Regions from separate parts of the Homo sapiens genome. Here region 1 is linked to region 2. The links are contacts of gene promoters, found by promoter capture Hi-C in blood cells and fetal thymus (Javierre and others, 2016). All regions are on one chromosome and are shown on one strand. The core of a region is centred on a gene start or on the middle of the fragment in contact, and the rest is flanking DNA. Distances in the headings are between cores, read along the strand shown.

Evidence for each region. Contacts are between HindIII fragments. The CHiCAGO score rates a contact against its expected background, and 5 or more counts as called.
Region 1: the fragment with the promoter of SCLY here is called in contact with the fragment with the promoter of ASB1 in region 2 in 3 of 17 cell types (total B cells, naive CD8 T cells and total CD8 T cells); the score reaches 9.0 in total B cells.

Annotation. Positions count from the first base shown.
Region 1 is chr2:238,058,230-238,065,076 of GRCh38, forward strand. SCLY (selenocysteine lyase) reads left to right here and starts at 2,772. Exons shown (of 12, transcript NM_016510.7): 1 at 2,772-2,914; 2 at 6,128-6,240. The coding sequence starts at 2,826. It overlaps UBE2F-SCLY (UBE2F-SCLY readthrough (NMD candidate)), which reads left to right. Exons shown (of 19, transcript NR_037904.1): 9 at 6,128-6,240. RefSeq lists silencers at 2,182-2,391, 2,532-2,981. The HindIII fragment of the contact is 10,603 bases long and covers 1-6,847 here.
Region 2 is chr2:238,422,338-238,429,156 of GRCh38, forward strand. It overlaps ASB1 (ankyrin repeat and SOCS box containing 1), which reads left to right and starts at 4,590. Exons shown (of 5, transcript NM_001040445.3): 1 at 4,590-4,782. The coding sequence starts at 4,734. LOC124908002 (a long non-coding RNA gene) reads right to left here and starts at 4,557. Exons shown (of 2, transcript XR_007088163.1): 1 at 1-4,557. RefSeq lists enhancers at 1-48, 3,171-3,706, 5,219-5,338, a cis regulatory region at 1-446 and silencers at 4,039-4,428, 4,449-4,968. The HindIII fragment of the contact is 6,850 bases long and covers 1-6,348 here.

The DNA.
Region 1 (6,847 bases), core at 1,522-4,021, 370 kb before region 2:
CGCGCCTCTCCCTCCACACCTCGCTGCAAGCTGAGGGAGCCGGCTCCAGCCTTGGCCAGCCCAGAAAGGGGCTCCCACAGTGCAGCGGTGGGCTGAAGGGCTCCTCAAGTGCCACCAAAGTGGGAGCCCAGGCAGAGGAGGCGCCGAGAGCGAGCGAGGGCTGCCAGGGCTGCCAGCACGCTGTCACCTCTCACTATCTTCATGGAGATGCCATTCCTCAAATGTCTGGCCACTATGGGGCACTTGTGTTTGTATTAGAGACATCTTGGTAGGTCATCTGTTGCATGTGTGACCAGTATACTTGGAATGGTGGTAGCTGCTGCTGCGTGTTGTACCCTAAACTGTTTTCAGCTGGGCTACCTCAGCACCTGGGCTTCTGTATGTTTGTACTCAATTCTTTCGGGGTATCACCAGCCATGTTGGACACTATCTTGTCTGACTCCACCACTACACTCACTATGTTCACCTGGAAACACAAACCTTATTGCTGCCTAACTGGCCCAAGGAGTGCTTGGGATGAATCGTCACTTTGTCCATTGTCCTTGGGCTCCTATCCTTACAGCCTTCCAAACAGATTTAGAGAATGAATTCTCCCCATGCCTATCAACTTCCCTAGCCACCTTTACTCTTAACTTCATCCCCTATCGTCTCCTCCAGGACTTTGGCTCCTCTTCCTTGCACGTCCTGTTGGCTAACTCCCTTTAGCCTATGAACATGTTCAGTCTCTATTTGCTCTTAATCTTTTTTTTTTTTTTTTTTTTTGAGACGGAGTCTCACTCTGACTCCCAGGCTGGAGTGCAGTGGCATGGTTTCAGCTTCACTGTGTAACCTCCACCTCCCAGGTTCAAGTGATTCTCTTGCCTCAGCCTCCCCAGTAGCTGGGATTACAAGCATGCACCACCACAGTCGGCTACTTTTTGTATTTTTAGTAGAGACGGAGTTTTGCCATGTTGGCCAGGCTGGTCTCGAACCCTTGACCTTAGGTGATCCACCCACCTCAGCCTTTCAAAGTGCTAGGATTACAGGGGTGAAGCACCGCGCCCAGCTTGCCTGTAATCTTATACGCCTTTTTAATTCCTCCTTTCTCAACCGTTTTAAGAGTTGACTGCATTCTTCATTTTTTCATATCCCATCTTTGCATTCTAACTTCCATGCCTCTCCCATCACTGAGACTTCTCTCGCTAGTTTATCAGTGCCTCCTAATTGTTACGCACAGTAGACTTCGGATTGCCTCTCAGCCACACTTTACACTATTATGTGTCTTCTTGACTTTTTTGACATTCCTTCTCAATTCCCTTTCCTTTCCTCCTCTTTTGACTGTTCTCATGCTCCTGTGCATCCATTTGCTTCTTAAATGTTGGTGGGCCCTTTGCTATTGGCTGCATTTGGCAAGAAATGAGCTGCGTTTATAGGGAAGAATGAGAGAGAATGAGTCCAGAAATTTGCAGATTTGCTGTGCTGGAAAAGCCAAGTTATTCTGGACCCCAACAGGACACAAAATAGAGAAAGCCCATGAAAAGCCAATTAAAATTCAACCTCTTGGCAAAGCATGCTTGAAACCGAATTTTGGCTCCAGCCACTACTCGTGTGAACTTGGGCAAGATGCCTTTCTGTATCTTGGATTCCTCATACATAAATACCTACCAGACTGGGTTAATCATCAAGATTAAATTAGTGAACACACGAAAAATACCTAGAACACTGCCTGGCATAGTTCAAGGCTCAATTAAAGGTAGACACTATTATGCCAAAAAAACAAAAAACAACAAAAAAAGTGACGGTAGGATGGCTTCGTGAGGATTTTTGCTCATTTCTACCACTTTCTCAACTGACTTTTCTTAATGGTTGGCGGGACACCAACCATTGGTGGATGTTTACACTTGTGACTGTCTCACAGACAACTCAACATGTCCAAAGCTAAACCCATCATCTTTCCCCCTCCCGTCTTCCCTCTTACCCAGATAAAGGCACTAACATCTTCCCAGTCACTTGTCTAATCCTTGCTTCCTTCCTGTCCCTCATGCCCCAATTCCTATTTAACGGCCTAAACAGATCTTGAATTAATCTTTCCTGCGTTTCCACGCCCACTTAGAGTCCCTCATCTCTGGCCCTATTTTCTCAATGCCCTCCCATCCTCTACTCCAGATCCCCTCAAGTCCATCCTCGATGCGTGACTCTTAACTTCACGCCATCCAGGTCCCCTATGGAGCCGCTCCGACTAACGGACGCGCAGGTCCAGCGGACCTGCTCATCACTGTCCAGGGTGGCCTGCGGGAGACCCCCGGGGCCCTGGCCCTGCTGCCGCGGCCCCGGCACTTCCCCTCGAGGGTTCGCGGGGAACAAGGCCGCGCGGCCCCGGCTCTCCCGGAGTGCACGGTCCCGCGCTCATGCGGCTAGAGGGAGGCACCCGCAGGACTGCCCAGCCGCCTCTGCTCCTCAGGTCCAGCTCGGGCCCCGCCTGCTCTTACGCCGACTAACCGGCCGCGGCCCGATGGCGGCCCTGCCGCAGACAGCAAAGGTCACGGGGCTCCCCCGGAAGTGAAAGTGCGGGGATCCGCCGGCCCAGGAGACGCGGCTTCTAGCGCCCGGTTCCCGGGAAGCTCTGTGACGCGCTAAGCCCCGCCCCCACCCGTCACCTGACCCAGCGCAGCCTCGCCTCCCCGCTGGGGGCTCGGCGGCCCTCTGAAGCGGGTGGATTGGCTGGGGTGCTTCGCTCAGCCAATCCGGACGCGCCCGGGCGTCGCGGCCCCGCCTCCTCCCCGGCGCTCTGGGCCCGTAGCGCTCCGCGGGAAGGAGGCTGGATGCCCGGCAGCAGTGGGGCGGGGATGGAGGCGGCCGTGGCGCCGGGGAGGGATGCGCCGGCACCCGCGGCGAGTCAGCCCAGCGGCTGCGGGAAACACAACTCGCCGGAGAGGTGCGCGCCTTTAGGGCAGGGCTGGGGAGCGGCCGGCGCCTGTCGCCGATTGTCCCGCGCGGGAGGACGAAGGGGGCTCCCGGCCTGTGGCCGCTCTCGCGTGGGGCGTCCCGCGCGGGGATGTCCGCGAGGTCGGCCTAAGTCAGGGATGCGAGCTTCAAGGAGGAGCGGGTGCGAGCTGTGGCCCCGCAAGGGCCCACGGAGAGGTGACTTTGGGGCCGAAACCCGAGTGACTTCCAGGGGTGAGGTTTGCAGGTTCTGGGGAAGCAGAGCCTGCCAGGAAGAGGGCACAGCAGATGCGAAGGGCAGGGGACTTGCCGGAGGTGAACCGGCAGAGCCCCTGAGCCCGGGAAGAACTTTGGGGTTCATTCGGAGCCTTATGGGGCCTCGGAAGTTGATCACGGGGCGATGCAATTTAAGTGTTTTGAAGGAGTCCTTCTGGCTGCTTCCTAGAAAGTAGGGGCGCGGGTAGGCATGGGACGAGAGGAAGCCGGGAAGCCAGTTGGGGATCTTGTAACAACCTAGGAGAGAGATGTGGTGTGCGCCCAGAAACGGATGCGTTGGTAGGAAGCTGGTGCACTGGGGCAGGTGAAAGGGAATCAAGGGTTCTCCCAGACTGCTGGCCCAGCTGCAGGAAACGGGATGGCCACCGCTGAGAAGCGCGGAGACCCGAAGCACGTGGTATCCATACTAGTTAAGTCCGAGAAGAGCAGGAGGCAGGGGTATGCATTTTCTGGTTTGTGTGTCTTCTTTCCAGACCCCTCTTTTTCCTTTTTGTGAGCTCATTCGCTACCCATGCTTAGAATATGAGGGGGTCCAGGCCTAAAGCACACACATTTGGCATTCTACCTTGGTTGGAACAAAGTGAAGGGATCTGGGAAAATATCCCCTAGGGAATCAGTGGAGCGAGATTCCCAAGATTTTTTATTTTTTGGTTATGAAGCTAACAAAGTTGAGCCTGCTCATCCAATACTGATAGCATTTTAAGGAAGCAGCAAATAATGAAGCAAAGGAATGTGTAAAGTATTAATCTGAACAAAATAGATTTGTTCAGCCCAGCAGCAGATTGAAGAGCTACAGTCGCTCAACAAACACTAGCTAGCCTAAGGTACTTTGGATGCTTATTTATAGGAAAGAAAAACAGATATAAGGGCACATGCAAAGTCAAGCCGGGCTGGGGGATTCCTAGGACTATTAATACTAGTACCAGAGTGGTAAAGGATGGCGAGTCAAACTTGTCAAAGCCTTGTACCTATTGAGTGATTTTTTTTTTTTTTTTTAATTGAGATGGAGTCTCACTCTGTCACCCAGGCTGGAGTGCAGTGGTGCAGTCTTGGCTCACTGCAACATCCACTGCCCGGGTTCAAACGATTCTCCTGTCTCAGCCTCCCAAGTAGCTGGGATTACAGGCACGTGCCACCACGTCCAGCTAATTTTATTGTATTTTTAGTAGAGATGGGGTTTCGCCGTGTTGGCCAGGCTGACCTTGAACTCCTGACCTCAGGTGATCTGCCCGCCTTGGCCTCCCAAAGTGCCGGGATTACAGGCGTGAGCCACAGGGCACAGCCTGTTGAGTGATTTTGAACAGAAAAGATGCTTCATTTCAACTAATGCACATTCTGTCCACACTCAGTGGCTTAACAGCCACAGTTAGTCATTGTATCTGGGTTTTCATGTGGATTGGTGTAAGCACTGTTTATTTAAAAACTAGATAAATTAATATCAGGCAGGACTACTACTACACATTTTTCTAAAGGCTTTCGAAGGTTTTGGATATTAGTAAAAAGATATACAGATAAATTTTACTTAGTGAGGGATCTTTCAGGGAATTTGTACTTTCTGTGGCATTTATTTTGTCATCTTATAAAAATCAGGCCCCTGTTGTGTGGCAACCATGGGCTTCAACATTGGTGACAGGGCAGTGAGAAAAACAGAGCCCCCATGCCCATGGAGCCATACTTCTGTTACTCTATTAAGGTAGACAGTAAGGGAACAAGTCTGGTATGTCAGATGATGATGCTGCCCAGAAAGGAAGGCGGGAAGGGGACCTGGAGGCTGGGGAGGTAGGGACATAGGTGGCTGCAGTTTTGTGGGTTTGTTTTTTTTGTTGTTGTTTTTTTTTTTTTTGAGACGGACTCTCACTCTGTTGCCCAGGCTAGAGTGCAGTGATATGATCTCGGCTCACAGCAACCTCTGCCTCCTGGGTTCAAGCAATTCTTCTGCCCCAGCCTCCCTAGTAGGGCTAATGTTTGCATTTTTAGTAGAGATGGAGTTTCACCATGTTGGCCAGGCTGGTCTCAAACTCCTAACCTCAAGTGATCCACCTGCCTTGACCTCCCAAAGTGCTGGGATTATAGGCGTGAGCCACCGCGCCCAGCCAGCTGTAGTTTTAAGCAGAGCTGCAGGGCAGGGGGTCTCACAAGAGGACTAAGTTGGAACAAAGACCTAAAAAAGTAAGGTGGGGGCAGGGCATGTAGTCTTTCTGGGCAAAGAAACTGAAAGTGCAAGGTCTGGGGCCAAAGTTCACCTGCCCCAGGGAGAAGCCCAGGTCACTAGGAGCCCCACAGGCCATCGCAAAAATGAGTGTGGGGAAATAAGGCGAACCTCTGATGAAGTTAAAACAGCAGACAGGAAAGTTCCCTTGGGGAATGTGCAGCTGTTCCCCTCCTTCCATAAGGAAGAGGCCAGTGATCTGCCCTTTACAGCAGTCAGATGGGTAATCTGGGCCCAACAGACCATTAATCCTACCAAGGGGTAGAAAGAGTGTTTGTTATTAGAGACTGGGTCTGGCTGTGTTGCCCGGGCTGGAGTGCAGTGGCTATTCATAGGCACCATCATAGCTCACTGCAGCCTCAAACTTCTGGCCTCAAGAGGTCATTCCGCCTCAGCCTCCCACATGGCTGGACTACAGGCACAATCCACTGTGCCTTGCTAGAAAGAAATTTTGAAAACCGAAATGAAAATCCAAGTCCTATCAATTATAAAAGAAATTGACAAAAACTAGAGTCTTAGAAATTATGCATGCATTTTCCATAAGTAGTGTAGATCTGTAGATTCCCAAGTGCAGCTTGTGGATGCCTGCAGTGCTTATGCAGAGGATCACCATGCCCTTGACATTATTTGCTCCTGCCGATGGGATAGACACAGAGCAGCCATATTTCCCATATGCCATCTCCTTTTCCTTAATGGGTGTCTTTGCTTTCTTTCCTTCAGGAAAGTTTATATGGACTATAATGCAACGACTCCCCTGGAGCCAGAAGTTATCCAGGCCATGACCAAGGCCATGTGGGAAGCCTGGGGAAATCCCAGCAGCCCGTATTCAGCAGGTAATTCTAGAAGATGCACGTGTTCACTGATGGGAGATAATGGGGATGGGGCGCTCTTAGAGAAATTGCACACCCACACGTGACGGCTTTGTTTTGAATAGGTTTCTGTTAGCTGCAATTCTTGAGCTGTAATTTTTGATAGTTTCTTTTCTGGGAAGGCCCCATTTGTAAGCTGAGCCTTGTCGATACTGTAATCTTTAACCTTTAATGTTTAATCTTTAACATGCTGTCCTGTCACCCTTTCCCAGATGAGAAAGGTGTCTACTGAGAGTTCCTTGAAGTAGCAGTCAGTACCTGTGGAGCACTTCACAGATCTAGCTCAGTCAATCCTTACAGAATTTGCAAAATATGTCTTTTAGGTCATCAGGATAACATATAATCCTGGCCCTTTTTAAAGATGAAAATTACTTTTTCATTAATTACTTTAGTTATGAATATTCTTATTTGTTTCCAATTTATTCTTATTGTAATGTAGACCATTAAATTGGAGGTTTTGGAGAAGAATTTGCTTCAAGTCAGTTATATGACAGAGTTACATTCTGTTTTTCAGACAGATGAGCAAGCTAAAGTCTTACCTTTCTTATTTCATGTTTATGAGAGATAATTA
Region 2 (6,819 bases), core at 3,340-5,839:
GTTCAGGAACAAGGCCTGGGCCAGCTCCTGTGACAGAATCAAAATACCCGTCCCACCAGAAGCCACTTTCGTGGAACCTAACTGTCTGCCAGGAGAGATAGGCCAGCTCCTCCGGCAGCTGCAGTCAGGTGAGGAGATAAATGCTGCTGGGAGGACCTGGAGCCAAGGCCCCAGCTGCGGGGCGGAAAGCGGGGGTGCGGTGGGGGAGGCATCTGGTGAGGGGGAGAGGTCCCCAGGACAGGGGTATGGGAGGGAGGGAGCCTCGTGCGCAGACCCCAGGGAGAGAGTGCTGGCCCTGGAGGGTCAGGTTCTAGGCAGGGCGCTTGGGAGCTGGAGGAGGGGAGGGAGGTTGGGGCTCTTCTCGGGAAGGGCCTCAGATGCCCAGGCTCCTCCAAGAGCCTATAGATGGGCATTCGGGACCGTGAAGGAGTCTGTGAGCCCGAGTGACAGAGACCAACTGGTATGGCAGGAAAAGTTCACCTGGCGGTAAGGAGGGCATGGTGAGGCCAGCCCAAAGACTCCAGCACTGCCGCAGGACAGGCGGGGAGCGGAGCTGAGGGCTGGGATAGGGTCTCCACTCACCCTGCTTTGAAAACTGGCAGCTCTGTGTTCTGAGGCCCACTCAGTGCTGGGCAAGCTGGGCTGTTGGTCCCGCTGTGGCCGAAGAGTCTCTAAAAACCTCCTGTCTCTGCTGCCAGTCCCTGCTCTGGGACTGAGATTTCCTCACCTCTGACTCCTCCCGCTGTGGCAGTGACCAGCACATGGTAGTTGCCTTCCACAGGTGCTGCCTGGAGAGACGCAGGCCCTGGTAGAGGATGCAGGGGCTCACTGAGCGCTGTGGCCTCCTGACACTAGTGGAGTTCTCGGTCACACCAAGGGAGGCAGCACAGCACCTGTGAGGGGGGCTGAAAGAGGGCACCCCCTTGGCAGGACTCCCAGGGCCCACACTGTCCTCTGCAGTCCCCACAGCTGGGCTTCCCGGTCCTCCCTGGGACCTCCACTGCCAGGCTAAACCACATCCAGGCAGAGGCCGACCTGGCTGGAAGAGGGAGGCTTCGAGGGCTGCAAGGAACATCACGGCCTGGGCCCTGCCCAGCCCCACCAGCCCCAAGCTGAGGGCCTGCTGGGACACTGCGTCTACCCCTGAGCCCTGCTCTGTTCCAAGCTGGGCAGAGAAGGTGGGCTCAGTTTAGGACAGGGTGGGGTGGGGTGGGAGGCTGGAGGTGGGCGTGGCTCCACTCAGCAAAGCCATGCCATAGCGTTAGCAGCCATGGCACCGATGCCCACTGTGTCCTGAGGCTCTCTCTGCCCCAGGAAGCCTGTGGCACATTCTATGGGATTTTGTGTCTTTACAAAGCCTGCAAAGTGGGTATTATCAGCCCGATTTGACAGGGAGGCAGCTGGTGCTCAGAGGAGTCACCCTGTCCTGGTGACTCAGCTGGAAGGATGTGGATCTGCCTCCCTAGCTTGGGGCAGACACCCTGACTCTCTGCAGGTGGGCTCCAAGGCCTGAGACAGGGTCTGCGGGGCAGGGGCTGGTAAAGATGTTTCCAGGGCAAAGCCTGGAGGGTCAGCGGGCTGCCCTCATCTCGTGGCCTCACCTGGTAAACCTTCAGATCCCCTGCTTCCTTCAAAGCAGGAGATCCTTCAAAGGGGAAGAGAGGGCTGGGCCTCCTGGGAGGAGACACCCCAAACACAGGCCCACAGGGCCTAGGATCAGGAGAGATTCCCATTTCTGGTCCCTGCCTGGGTGACATCTGCTGCCCAATTCCCGGAGACAGCTGTGGGGGTTAAGCGACAGCAGCACCAGCACACCCAGGCCCAGCAGGATCCTCACCAGCCTGCAGCTGTGGAGCTCATGTTTCCAGCCCCCCATATACCTGCCATGCTTCCAGAGGGGCCCCCAGTTCCCTGCAACAGGAAGGATGAGGGATGGGGGCCCCTTCTCAGACCTCCTGAACCAGAAAGTCCATTGTTGGACATTTTTGTTATAAAATGATGGTAATGAGCACTACTGTAGCTGAATCTCCCCCACATCTGATTATTTCCCTAGAATGAATGCCTGGAAGAGGCATTTCTGATCAAGGATTATTCATTCTTATGCTTTAGCTAGACTGCCAAATTTTCCACCACAAAGACTGGGCTAGGCTCCACAGAGGGGTCACTGGGGACACTTTGGGGGAGGCCTGAGCCTCCAGGAGGCAACAGGAAGCGACGGGTGATTTTAGGGGTGGGAAAACGGGAGGGAGCCACTGGGACCTGGAGGGGCAAGACAGCCCACTGCACTGGTCCTGTTGCTGCTGTGCTGGGCTGGGATGGCACTGGTAGGCACTGGTAAATCCCTGTTGCTTGTAGGTGATGGGACCCAAGTTGCTTCATCTCTAGCGGTCACTGAGTGTCCCTGTGTTGGTGGGTCTTTTGGGCTCAGAGGACCTGGAAGAAGAGGGACTCTGGAGAGGTGAGGTCAGAGGGGGAGACAGGCTGTAGGGCTGGACAGTCTGGATGTGATCCCAACTCAGCCACCTGTGGGCTATGTGGTTTTGGGCATAGCACCAGGCCCCCAGATCTCAGGGTCCTGAGAAATGGGGGTGATGGTATTGGCAGAGTGGCCAGCAATTGAGTGTCCTTCCCCCTCCAGCACTGCTGGCTCTGTGGACACTGCCCTGCACCATGTGGGCATTTAGGAGGCACGGAGGTGGGCATGTGAGGCCACCTCCCCGCTACAGACCACGTGCGGCCTCAGGTTCTTCTAAGAGGCAGGATCCCAAGGGCAACACGTGGCAGGGAAGGTGGAGGTGCAGGTGCAGGAGGGCCACTCTGCTCAGGGACTCAATACCTTGATGCAAAGGCTACCGACACGCAGAACGCTCACTGTGAGCCCACCGGGACCAGGCAGGCAGAGCAGCGGAGGCCCCCGGAGACGTGGCTCTCACCAGGCTGCACTTTAGAATCACCTGGGTGCTCTGAACCACCCAACACCCAACCCGCACCCCTGACTGACTGCACCGGAACCTCTTTTAAAAAATTCTTTAAAACAATTGTGGTAAAATATATAGAACATAAAACTTAACCTGCTTTAAATGCGCAGTTCAGTACTGTTAATGCACAATTCACATTGCTGTGTGACCCGTCTCCAAAACTTTTTCATCTTCCTCAACTGAAGCTCTGTCCCCATGAAAAACTAACTCCTCATTCCCCACTCCCCCAGCCCTTGGCAACCCCCATTCCGCTCCACCATTTCACTGCTCCAGGGACCTCAAATAATTGGAATCACACAGTACTGTATTTGTCTTTTTGTGGCTGGCTTATCTCACTCAGCATAACGTCTTCAAGGTCATCCGTGTTGTGACGTGTGTCAGGATTCCCTTCCTTTCTAAGGCTGAGTACGAATCCATTGTATGGACGGACAGCATTTCCTTTCTAAGGCTGAGTACGATTCCATTGTATGGATGGACGGCATTTCGTTTATCCATTCATCCATCCAACAACACGTGAGGCGGCTTCAGGCTTCGGAGTTGCTGAAGCTCCGAGTTCGGGATGTGCAGCTGTGGTGGAGCCAGGGGCTGGGCACACCCCTGGCTCCTGGCCTGGCAGCGTCATCATCGGAGTCACCTGTCCCTCATGCCAGTGGTGCTCTCTGCTGTCATCAAGACCAAACACCACTGTAGGAAGTACCCCCACTCCCGCCTCCAACCCCCACAGGGCCTGCCAGGTCTGCCCCCAGTGGGCCCCCTGGTGCATCTGGGCCACCCAGGGCCAGCCTCAGCAGGGGCACTCGCGGGGCTGCGCCTGCGGCTTCCCTTACTCCAGTCTGGAATGTTGTACACACGGATGAGCCAGCAGCTCACGCCCACGACTGCTGGGGTCTCCGGACTCCCTCATCAGCCTCCTGCTGTGCTGTGTACAAATCCTCCTCCTGCATGAGGCCCCGCTGTCTAACTCAGCAGGGGAGAATGGGAGGAGCCAAGGGAATCCGTGCTTTAGGACCAACACCAATACTCATGGTGGGACGACGCTGCGATATTTGAAGTTGGGAGTGTGCAAGAAATGTTACTCGGTTGTTCACGAATGCATTCATTTATTCAATGAACTTCGCGTCAGCCACTGGCTGTCATCAGTTACCGACCTGATTGAGGGCTTCATGGAAGGGATTTGGAGGAGCATTCATCTAAAACCACAGCACGCTGCGACGCTCAGCCCTGCAGTGGGCCCTCACCAGTCCCCGCGCCTCCGAATCCACCCTCCCGGGGCTGCTCGTGGCTAGCGGGGGGCACCTGCGGGGACCAAGCCAGCCCGGCCGAGGCCCGGGTCCCGCCCGCCACGGCCCTCGGGGCCCCGCCCACATCTGGCAGAAGCCACGCCCCGTCCGTGTGGGTGGGGACGGCCCGCCGGACCGAAATTCCCAGACTGCTGCCTCAGGCAACGGGCTTTCCGACTCCTTGGCTTCTTATGTGAGGAAACCACAGCGCGGCCGGCATCCAGAGAGTCGGTTAGCCGCGAAGTTCCCGCCGGACGAAGGGACCAGCCAGCGCCCTGCTAGACAGCGAGGCCGGAAGCGGAGGCGTGGCCCCTGCGCGGCCCCGGAAACCAGTGAGGCCGGCGCGCGCCCGCCGGAAGCCGCGACCCCGACGCGCCCCCCATTGCCCTCGGCGCCGGAAGTGGTCGCGGGTCGTTCTGCTTCCTGCCCGAGGGGCGTGCGCGGGTCAGGGGCGGCCGCGGAGGCGGAAGCATCCATGGCGGAGGGCGGCAGCCCAGACGGGCGGGCAGGGCCGGGCTCCGCAGGTAACGTGCGCGCGGCCACTGGGCCGCGGGGCGTGTGGGGATGGCGAAGGGCTGGCTCCGGCGTCCCTGCCGAGGTCCTGCGTCCTCGTCCCGGGCTGGCCGGGTCCACGGGGCAGCCAGGGAGCCGCACCCTGCAGGCCGGGGGTGGGGTTCAGCGCGGCTCGCAGTGCTGGGCGACCCCACCACGGACGCGCTGCCCTCTCCTCGGCCTCGAGTGCAGTCCCCGCGCTAGATTTTCTTTCCGGTGGAACTTGCTCGTAACTTCCTTCCCGTTAGCCGATACAGATTTGATATGACCCAACCGCAAAAGTAGGACGTGGGCCACCTTCCAGCTCTGAGCGCACGGATCAGGAAAGCCAGCCAGAGGGTAGCCCTAGGGAGGGCAGGCACTTTTTCACCATTCTGCCGCCCACGGCGTGTCCGGTGGTACAGCGGGGGGCAGCCTTCCCACCCACCACAGGCACAGACCAGGGACAACGGGGACGCCGTCTCCAGCGAGCTCGTCAGTGACACAACATGTCCAGGGGCCTTTGGCCCACCAGCAAGGGAGGCAGATAGAAAGGCTCACACCCACCTTCCAAAATAACTGTCCTACTTAGGGTCTCCACCTTGCAGTGTCCCTACCATGCAGATGTGAAGGAAGCGGTCAGGACAGGTTCCCGTTTCCCGGTGGTGTGGTGGGAGTTCCTTCTTGCTGGATTTCTGAGCTTGCCATTCGCGCCAATAGTTTCGTGTGTTCTGGGCTTTCTTTACATGCCTATATTTGTCTTTGGAGGGGTTCCTCTCCTACTTAGTAATAAACCAATACATTTCTTAAACATCTTAAAAGATTGACTTGGAGACTGGTGCAGATAGGCTTTTCCATCCATCCCTCCCTCTGCACCTCCTTCCAATCATTTAACAGACTTGTATTGAAGACCTGCTGTTGGCTAGACCCAGCAGAGGATACTGCAGTGACCAGAAAAAGCCAGACAAAGCATCTACCATCCTGGGCTTTGGTTGGCGTTGACTTTGACTTCAGAGACAGCCAGGACCTTAGGGTCTAGGATGTCATCTCATGTGAGAGTGAGAGACGGAATGATGCGTGTTCCGTGGGAAAAAGAGGACCAACAGCTACTTCCCAGTATAAAGAGAGTTCCTGGGGAATAAACACTGGCTTTGTCGGCTGCACAGGTCTCCTTTTTTTTTGAGACGGAGTTTCGCTCTTGTTGCCCAGGGTGGAGTGCAGTGGCGTGATCTCGGCCCACTGCAGCCTCCGCCTCGGGGGTTCAAGCGATGCTCTGGCCTCAGCCTCCCTAGTAGCTGGGATTACAGGTGCTGGCATCATGCCCGGCTAATTTTTGTATTTTAGTAGAGACGGGGCTTCACCATATTGGCATATTGGCCAGGCTGATAGCGAACTCTAGACCTCAGGTGATCTGCCCGCCTCTGCCTCCCAAAGTGCTGGGATTACAGGCGGCAGCCACCACACTCAGCTGAGGGCTCCTTTTTATATCCTCATGCACTGCTGTTTTGTTATTCAGTGTGTTTCGGCCTCGGGTAGAGGGGCAACAGATTTTCAGTTGAAGCTTAAGTGCTATCCTGGGGCAGTTGTGTTGTCATTGGAGTAGTTGATCAGCGAAACACAAACTTGAAGTTGCTTTTGAATCTGGAGCTGGGGAAAGATTCTGAGTCTACTTTGAGCAGGGCCAGGAATGGATAGCACAGAGGCCAGCAGAGGGGGCCCAGAAGAGGGCTCAGCAAAAGTCCTGTGGCCGCCATTTACCTGTTGGTTATTGCCCTACACCTGAATCTTTCCCACTCCGACTTTGAACTTTTTCACTCTGTAGTAACCGCAACTGTGGAGTAATTACAGGGGAGGATAGTTACTGAAGGAAGACTGGGGTGGTGGCTTAAAGAGCTGTTCATGCCGGCTTGTTGATCTGCGGCGAGTCTGGTTGTGGGATCAGCATGAGCAACTCAGTGGACTGTCAAACCCTGCAGAGCCGGGACACTTACTCATCACCCCCGTTTCACCTGTGGTTGAGTCTCATGTAC